Regions from separate parts of the Homo sapiens genome. Here region 2 is linked to region 1. The links are contacts of gene promoters, found by promoter capture Hi-C in blood cells and fetal thymus (Javierre and others, 2016). All regions are on one chromosome and are shown on one strand. The core of a region is centred on a gene start or on the middle of the fragment in contact, and the rest is flanking DNA. Distances in the headings are between cores, read along the strand shown.

Region 1 (4,582 bases), core at 234-2,733:
CTTTGAATACTGAAGCCCGCATCTCAATGCCCCCAGCCCCACGCTCCAGTGGGCACATGTTGCAGGACGCTCTTGGGAGCCCATCAACTCAGCTCCTCCACCCCGCCAATCCCCACCAAAGCCCAGGGCACAGCCTACAGGTTTTTCTGTGTTTCTCTGGGAACTGCAGGAAAAGGAAATGGGCCCCTGTGGCTGTCCTCCGGGGCTGGCAGTATGTTGAAAAGGCAGAGGGAAAGCAAGCCCCCCCCACCTCCTGGCAGAGATAGGGGTCTTCTGCCCCAGAATGGTCCCACCATGGAGGACCCCCAGCCCCAGGAGCAGGGCCTCCCTGGGCCAGACCTCAGGCCTAGGGCCAGCCGGGGTCAGTGTGGCCTCACATGCTCCCCTCGGGCTGGGAGACAGAGAAAGCCCCAAGGAGGACAGCTTCCTGGGCTGCACGGAGTGGCACTGGGGGGTGGGGAGTCCATGGCTGGTAGGAAGGAAGAGGTCCCCTGGCTTTGGGGGAGCCTGTGCTGGCTAGGGAATTGTGGGTGCTGGGCAGGGACTGGTCGGCTCTCTGGGTCCCTGGCAGGATAGGTAGGGAGGTCAGCTCACCGTGGTGAAGTTCTCAGGCCCACAAGGTTGGCCACGGAAGCGACAGTCCAGCAGCATGTCATCCAGGGAGTGCCCAGCACGGGCATAGAGTTGCGCCATGTCAAAGGTGGGACTGGGCATGAAGCCGGGCGGTGCAGGGGGCCGGCCCAGGGCGCGCAGGAAGGCGGCGTGCTCTGCGGGATCCAGGCCCAGCAGCGCAGACCCAGCCCAGTGCAGGTCGTTGGGCGTTAGGCGCGAGCGGCGCAGTGGGTTGATGTTGCACAGGGTGACAGCCGGGAAGATGAGCCGGTGGCTTTCTCGCTCATCCAGGGCAGTCTGGTGGTGGAACTCCCTGTAGTAGCGCACCCTCTCAGCCACCTGGTAGAGGAAGGTGGCCACTGACAGGACCACGGCCGCTGCCCACATCCCCCGGCGCAGGCTCAGGCTGCCTGGCCCGAAGACGTGGCCCAGCCCGTGCATCGAGCAGTTGCTGGCGAACACGCGGATGTCCGAGGCTGGCCGCCGGGCCTCCTCTGGGCCTGAGGTGGGCTTCATGGCCAGAACCCAGGAGCGGAACCAGCTACAGAGGCTTGGAAGAAGCGAGAGAGAGTCAGTCAGGGGGCTAAGGAGGCTAAGATAGGATTCAGGAGGCCAGGCAAGGAGAGGAGAAGAGAGGGTGGGAGACAGCCAAGGTTGGAAGGCAGGGAGGCACTAGCCTGGCAGGATTGGAGGAGGTGATCTGGCCGGTCAGGTCCCACTGTTCCTTCCCGAGGAACAGGCGGTGGCTCCACTGGGCTAGGCACTGGGCTGGGGACTCCGCAGCAGACCAGGTGGGACGTAGCTGACCGTGGCAGGCAGGGGCTGCGGAGCGGTGCTGAGCCGGCGGTGCTGAGCCGGCGCTGCTGCAGAGGATTGGGTTTCAGCAGTAGGGGGGAAAGGGGGCCGACAGAGCAGTCTGGGGGGTAGGAGAGGTCCCTAGGGCCCCAGGCTGAGCCATTAGTGCAGCATGGAGGGGGGCATGGCTGTCCAAGACGAGAGGCGCCAGGAGGAAACCGCAGTAATCCTAGGGAGAGCTTGAGAAAAGCCCAGAGGTAGATTGGGCCTGGAGATGCCTTGGGGCCCCCTAGGCTCCCAGTTGCAACCCCTGTACACTGGCCGCGAGGGTCAGTCGCTGACCCCTGGCCTAGCTCCTCTCTCCTTTTGCCTCTGCGGCCTTCCCTCTAGCTTCACCCAGGATCTGTTCCTTCACGAATACCAGAGCTGGCTCTTGGCCAAGCTGGGAAATGGTTGGAAGGCTGGCATCAGCAGATCTCTTCTTTCTGTGCCCCTAGCATCTCAGCCTACACTGGATGGCCAGGGCACTCTTCATGTCCCACTTCCAGGGCCCGTCTGTTTCCTAAGTGTCCCTCTCTCCCTAGGGAGTCAAAGCCTACCTCCCCACACTCAGGCCTCTGAGGATGTTGGCCTCTACAATGGTTATGGGCTCACCTGCCACCCCAGGTAGAACATGGGTGCCCCACCTGCCACCCTCCCGGGTACCACGGGTACCCCACCTGCCATCTCAGGCACAACATGGGTATTCTGTGATTTCCCATCTTACGCTGCTATATCCAGGACCTGGAAAACCTACATTTTTCCAAAGGGCTGCATACCACCCATTATGTGCACATACCATAGTTTATTTAATGACTCCCCCACTGATGGGCACTGGGGGTGTCCAGTCTTTCCATTACAAACAATGTTGCCGTATCATCACACAGATGTGAACTCCCAGGACTTTGGTGGGCTTTTTTTGACCATGAGTGGTAGAAACATGGTTCCACCAGCCAAACGTGTGCACACACCATGCTGCAACTGCTGGGCCACCTGTCTGTCCTCCCAACAGGACACAAGCTTCATGGGGGCAGGGACTGTCCTCATTCCCCATCGTGGGCTCAATGGCACATGACAGGTGCTTGATTAATAAACACTTTGGAAGGACTGAGTACCATGGTTACAGCACAGGCGTACCAGCTCCCCAGAGCCACAGTGCCATGCTTTGCAAGTATTTACTGTAGATGATCCCACTCACACTCTCAAAACAGGCATTCAGCATCAAGCACAGCTAGGCTCCCACTCTCCACTGTGGAGCGAAGGCCGAGGCGAGGTTAGGAAGACGGCGCGGCTCCTGCGGTCTAGCTCTTCCAGCTGGACTAGCCAAGGGGTTTCACTGCTTCTCTAGGGGGCGGGTGAAGGGCTGGATTTAAAGAAGCCGCCCAGAAGATATAAATCTGGTGTCAGAGGCATTTTGGGCAGCCTGAGGCTGATGACTGAGTGGGTGAAGCAGGAACCACCTTGGCTGGCTGCCTGGTGAGGGAGGGGTCAGGCCAACAAGCAGGGCCCCAGCAGGGCTTGTGGACTTGCCAGCTGAGGCCCTACTCTGGGCTGCCCTAAGGAGGGGTTTAGCTGTGAACCAGCCCCAGGCTCTGCTCCTGGACCTCCACTGCTTAAAGACACAGCCTCTGATCTGTCAGGAAGTGGGATATCAAATCAGGGTGGATGTGGGCCTGGGGTTTTTGGATGGCTTGTCCCCAAAGCACCATCTAGTTCTAAACCACACCCACAAGAGCCCGTGGGTCCCACTCTGGCTCCTGCACGCAAACTTGAGCCACTGCTGCCTCTTCCAGGCTGGCCTCCCAGCAGCACCAGCTGCTCCATCAATGCACTGTATCACACCCCTGAAAGAGGGTACCACCCTTCTTTACACAGGGTAAATCCAGAATGCTTGCCTGGCTGTGAAGGTGCATTGCAGGTACCACCTCTTCTCCTGCCCAGGGGAACAGGGCACCGTGTAGTCCCACAGCCTGGATGTGGCTGGATAGGGGAAGGATCCCAGTAGGAAGTGACAGCGGCACCAACATGGGGAGGGCTGATGCATCTGCAGCAGTGCAGGGACACGAGGTCCTGCTGGGGCACCAGTTCAGCCAAGGACCTACTTGTGTGCCTTTCCAGGCCCCTCAGAAGCCAGCTGGAGCCTAGCCCCCTCATCCACAGTCTCAGGGCCACAGGCGCCCATCACTCAGGATGTCTGCCTTCCCCTTTCAAGGTGCGCCTCCCAGAACCTGCTGGGGATGCTGGCCTGTCCACAGCCGCACCCTCCTGGACCGATTCTGTACTGGATTCTGCAGTAGCTGCTCCATTTAGCTCTGTACTCGTCAGCACTGTGGGCAGGAAGCAGAGAGCTCCAGGTGGGCATCAGCCCCTCCCATCTCCTTCAGTGCTGGGTGTTCTTGGTGTAGATGGAGGCTGGTTCACAATCTCAGTGGGTGAAAGACGCCAGGCACACAGGGCAGGGCCGGTGGAAGACAGCCAGGCAGGCTGGCGCTTCTCGTGGGAACTGGCCATTGTGGCCCCGTCCCTCCTACCCTGACCCAAGTGTTGGGCCCTGTTAGGCCTGTGTCCCTTGTGGGTGGGGAGGGGAGGTGAAATCTAGAAATCAGGACTGTGTTCACTGTGCAGGGAGAAAGGAGGGAGGTTGTTTGGAAGATGGGGACTGTGGGTCCCGGGGTGAGCCAGGGGATAGGCTCCTTCTCCCATGGAGGGAGTGGGGACACAGGAGAGGGAGTCAGTCGCCAGTCTAGGGAAGTGAGGTCCTAGCAAGGGTGTGGGAAGAGCCTAGGTTTGAATTCCCAGGCCCACTTCCAGACCCTGATTTTTAAAAATTCCCTGGAGCTACTGTAGGCCTGGCCAATTTGAAGCTGCTGGGTGGGGCAGGGAGACTGGCCAGAACGTCTCTTGAGAGGTCTGGAGGGGTCTGGGCAAAGGGAGAATAGAGTGGAGGTGTCTCGTGGAACTCTGTCTCTGCCCATTGCAGCCCAATGACTCTGGCAGACTCTGGTGGGAGGGAGGCAGCCGGCAGGACTGGGGAGGGGAGGGAGGGATTGGCCTCCCCTGCCAGCTGCTCGGCCCCGGCTTTATTGTGAGCAGGAGCAGCCGCAGCGACTCTCCACATGCTGGCCCTCCTGGGGGC
Region 2 (5,046 bases), core at 615-3,114, 1.2 Mb after region 1:
GAGGTTTTGTATTTTTAAATTTTTTTTTTTTTTTTTTTTTTTTTTTTTTTTACTTTTTAAGCTTTCTTAAAACCTAAGACACAAACACACACATTAGCCTAAGCCTACACAGGGTCAGGATCATGAAGATGTCACCAGGTGATAGGAATTTCTCAGCCCCACTGTAGTCTCAGGGGATTGTACGTGAGAGCGGTGTTGATGGAAACCTTGTTATACAGCGCATGACCGTATTTCTCTTCTCCCGTTAAAGGCTAAGAAAGCCTCTGACTGAACAGAATAGCTTGGAAATCAACTTCAAATCACTGATACCAATATCAATCCCAATATTTTATAATCCTTCTTCCCCCTACATTTTGCTTCTCTTTATTCAAATTCAGGTTCAATCTAAACCAATCTGGGGATATTTCCAAAGGGTAAGGGCCATAAGCTCCATCTTTGCTTGGGTTTTGTTGAGCTTTATTGGCTTGGACCACGTACTCTGTAGGTGCCGTGTCTGCTACATGCATCACTGTAGCTTGTGGAGGGAGGGAGGATGGAAGAGATGCTCATGCGAGAAATCACCTCTTTTGAAATTCAGAGTCCTTCCTAGTCTTCCCAGGAAAAACTACAGCATCAAAAGAACCTCATTATCCTTTTCTCTCTTTTCGTGTGGGACAACCCTTTCAGGCGTGTCCAAGTTATTGAAGTGAAAACTGCAGGAGAGCTCCTTGAGAAAGGTGATCATTTCCTATTTATCCTCATACTTCCAGCATCTCGTTCAATGCAAATCACAGATCACAAATGTTTATTAAATGGACAGTTTTTTAAGGGACTCAATAAACAGTCGAAAACGTTTGTTGAGAGAATTCTCCTCTGTGCCAAATAAGAAACAATACTCAAGAACTGGCAGCAAACAACATCCAGAAAGATGTTAGTCCCAAGAGGCTGCCACTGTCTCCAAGCTAATGTGCCCACAACCACACTGGTCTTGGATGACACGGCCTGGAAGCGCTGGCAATCCCGTCAAATCCCTGAACTCCGCCCCCAAGCACTTTCTTTCCACCTTTTCTTCCAACTCAAAGCCTCTTGCCCAAAGCCAATTTATGACACAGGTTTCTAAGCAATGCCCAGATATTCCATGAAGTACATAACCTAGAAACAGAAGTGGCAAAAAGCATGCCAGATGCCCTCTCTTTTCAGCCCTTTCTTGGTAAGGAGGATCTAGGCAGGGTCAAGCCCTCAAGCGTCCCACCCTGCAGCTCCCACTGGCGTCCGATCCAGACTCCAAGCCTTAGCAGGGCCTCTTCAAAACGCCGAAGGTGGTGGGGAAAACAGGAAGCACCTTCGCATCGCTCCACTCGGGGGTCACCCAACCCAGCATCGACCCAGCGGACGCTCGGCAGCTCGGGGAGGATGCGCGGACACCGAACGGAAGCGTCCGCTCCTCTCCGCCACCCTCCCGGGGTCGGGCGCCGAAGTGCGGGAAGAGAGGGCGGGCCGGCGAGTCCTTCCCTGCAAGCCTGGCTCATCTGCGGGGCCTCCGCCCGAGCCGCCCCGCCTCGCCCGAGCCCGGCTCGGGGATCCTCGGGAGGGAGCGGGCGGCCCCCGGGCCTTCCAGTCCTACCTTCCCCGACTCTCTGGGCTCCATGGCCCCGCTTTCGGAGGCCCGTGCCGCCCCCTCCCCCCGCGGCCTGGCCTGAGGATGCAGCCGCCGCGACCGCCCCGGGGACCCAGGCTCCCGGAGGGGGAGGGCACCCAGGTAGGGAGGGAGCGCGGCCCAAGAACTTCGCTCTCTCACGTCGGGGGGCGGTAGCGCCGGTGGACCCAGGATAAGCGCGCTGAGCTGAGACTTGCGTCGCACCGAGCGAACAGCTTTACGGTCACTGCCCAGCCCCAGGCGGCGGGGCGTGACGGGAAGTGTAGTCCGCTCTAGGTGAGCGGCTCTCGAAGCTGCTATTGGCTCCCGGAACGCAGGTCCTGATTGGACGCCGGCGGCGCGCTTGCGACCCTCCCCGCCTCCCTCCGGCGACAGTTACTAGGCAACGGCGGCGTGGCGTCCTTTAGTCCTCTGCAGCAAGGGCAAAGCGCTCTGATTGGGCTACGCGAAGGCCAATGTCAGCCTTGAAGTTCTAGGTTTTCTTTTATTAAGGAGGGCAATACTTTTTGTTCTATTCACTCAAAAAGTATCATTGGTTGCCTACCATGGGTCAGGCCGTGTTCTAGGGTTTGGGAGAACACAGTTGAATGAGACAAAGGCCTTGCCTTCAAGGAACTCACGATCTATTAGGGAATCAGACCAGAAACAGATAATTACAAAACAGAGACAAGGGCTATGAAAGAGGTAAGCACAAAACATGAATTAAAGCCCGCGTTGTCACCTTAGAGTGAAGCGGTGGGGGATATGAGGTGCTTAGTCAAGGATTTCCTGCGGAAGTGATGCCTCAGCAGAATTAAAGCAAGAGGTAGGGTCTGCCAGGTAAAGGAGGTGCAATGGACTGACCGGTGTTCCCCTCCCAGGAGATGGGGCGTTTGGGAGGTTTAGATGAAGTCGTGAGGGTCAGGCCCTTATGGTGGGATTAGTGTCCTTATAAGAAGTTTTGTCCAAGTGCGGTGGCTCACACCTCTAATCCCAACTCTTTGGGAGGCTGAGACAGGAGGATCACTTGAGCCCAGTAGTTTGAGACCAGCCTGTGCAACACAGTGAGAGATCCCATCTCTATAAAAATAAAATAATTTTGTGAGGTGGAAGGATCACTTGAGCCTGGGTGGTCGAGGCTGCAGTAAGCCGGGATGGCGCTTCTGCACTCCAGCCTGGGTGACAGAGCAAGACCATGTCTCAAAAAAAAAAAAGACTTTTAGGGGGCCAGGGCAGGGATGTGCCTTCATGAAGGTGTTAGTGACCACATGCGTGCTGGGGGAACTAGCTAGGCCCTTTGCCCTTCTGCCCCTCTGCCTTCTGCCATGTGAGGACAGAGCAAAAAGGTGCCCTCCTGGAAGCAGAGACCAGGCTCTCACCAGACACAGACACTGCTGGTGCTTTGATCTTGGATTTCCCAGCCTCCAGAATCATAAGAAATAAGTATCCATAATTTATAAATTACCTAGTTCCAGGGATTTTGTTACAGAAGCACATAGAGATTAAGACAATGGTCAACTAATTTTTTTGTATTTTTAGTAGAGACAGGGTTTCACCATGTTACACAGGCTTCAAGTAAGCGTTTTCCATTATCCAGCTCTGCTCTTCTGGCCAAGGTTGAATAGACCTAAATTCCGTTCGAGGAGTGTAGGGGAGTCTGCATTACTGAAAAAAAGAATGAGACACAAGAAATGTGGAGGAGAAGGCAGAGAGTGAGGACTCTGTGGATTCCAAGTGGCCTGCCACTCACCACCTCGACTATATCACTACCTTGAAGAGCTATATTTCTGCCCATGAGTTATCCATGTCTTTATAACAGATTCTCTTTTAGGGGTTAAAAAACTGGAGGACAGCTAGGGTAAATCATTCTTTTGACACATTTTTCCATAAAAGGTTTTCCATCTTTCCAAGAAAAATGGAGCAGTATCTAGGGGGAAATGGGGAATCAAAGCAGTAGGACTAAGATATGAGTCACAAGATCTTGTTTCTGTGTTGATGGGAAGGAAACTGATGATTCAAAGGGGGATAGTGCAAGGAACCAAGTCCTTGAGAAATCAGGAGGGTCTAGGAACAGGGTATCGAGGGCCCTTCCTAGGGATAGGAACACTTTTTTTTTTTTTTTTTTTTTTGAGATGGAGTCTCTCTCTGTCACCCAGGCTGGAGTGCAGTGGCTCAATCTTGGCTCACTGCAACCTCCACCTCCCAGGTTCAAACAATTCCCCTGTGTCAGCCTCCTGAGTAGCTGGGACTACAGGCGTGCACCATCACACCCTGCTAATTTTTGTATTTTTAGTAGAGACAGGATTTCACCATGTTGGCCAGGCTGGTCTCGAACTCCTGACCTCAAGTGATTCACCTGCATTGGCCTCCCAAAGTGCTGGGATTACAAGCCTGAACCACCGCGTCTGGCCGGGATAGCAACACTTTTGGTTATGCCAGGAGGGAAGAAGAAGATGGAGTAGATGTACATTTGTTTGTAGATTTACTGAGGGAATTTCCATCCGATGATGTCTCTTTGAGACAAGATCATCTCATGAAAATGAAGTGGGGAATAGAAGGTATACCAAGTCATCTTGGAGAATGGGAAATAGAGCTTACCTCAAACCTTGAATTAAAGGCCAATTTGAAGTTTATGATCACAAATTTCAGTTTAAAAAAAGCCTGGCTGCGAAATTCTGTTTAGAAGCAGAAAGTTGGGTAGATATTTGGCTTCATCCTGGCTTGGAGTATTGCCAGGTAGGTATGAAGGAGGCACAGAAAAGCAAGGGAATGAACAGTACTTGCAGGAGTAATTATGATGGTAGGAAAGTGATTCTCAATTCCAGCTGCACATTGGAATCACCCATGGACCTTTCAAACATCCTGATTTAATAGGCCTAGGATGGGGCATGGGCACTGATTTTTTTAATTTGTTTAATTTTTTTGTTTGTTTTTGTTTTTTAAGAGACAGGGTCTCACTCTGTCACCCAGACTGGAGGGCAGTTGCGTGATCTTGGCTGACTGCAGTCTTGACCTCCTGGGCTTAAGGTATCCTCCCACCTCACCCTTCCGAGTAGCTAGGACTACAGGAGTGTGCCATCACGCCTGGCTAGCTGTTTTTTTACTTTTTGTAGAGATGGGTTCTCACTATGTTGCCCAGGCTGATCTCAAACTTCCAGGCTCAAGTGATCAACCCGCCTCCCAAAGTGCTGGGATTATAGGCATGAGCCACCATGCCCAGCTGGCATTGATATTTTTTAAGAGCTCCTCATGTCATGTGCTTCTCACGTGCAGTTGGTGTTGAGAATCACTATATAGACCATGAATCTAAGCTGTGTCACGAGGGAAGATAGGAAACTAATAAAAAAGTGAGAAAGTGGTGGGTCAATGAAATTGAAATCACAAAAGCAGCCATAAATTATAGCAGTGGAGTATTAGAGCAAGTCAGCTGG

Evidence for each region. The method cuts DNA at HindIII sites, captures the fragments that hold promoters and counts their contacts. A CHiCAGO score of 5 or more calls a contact.
Region 2: the fragment with the promoter of ZNF862 here is called in contact with the fragment with the promoter of ASIC3 in region 1 in 1 of 17 cell types (fetal thymus); the score reaches 7.0 in fetal thymus.

The regions. Positions count from the first base shown.
Region 1 is chr7:151,045,432-151,050,013 of GRCh38, reverse strand. ASIC3 (acid sensing ion channel subunit 3) reads right to left here and starts at 1,483. Exons shown (of 11, transcript NM_004769.4): 1 at 595-1,483. The coding sequence starts at 1,128. It overlaps ABCB8 (ATP binding cassette subfamily B member 8), which reads right to left. Exons shown (of 16, transcript NM_007188.5): 16 at 2,232-4,582. The HindIII fragment of the contact is 11,911 bases long and covers 1-2,468 here.
Region 2 is chr7:149,835,193-149,840,238 of GRCh38, reverse strand. It overlaps ZNF862 (zinc finger protein 862), which reads right to left and starts at 1,864. Exons shown (of 8, transcript NM_001099220.3): 1 at 1,604-1,864. The coding sequence starts at 1,627. RefSeq lists a silencer at 1,329-1,788. The HindIII fragment of the contact is 19,921 bases long and covers 64-5,046 here.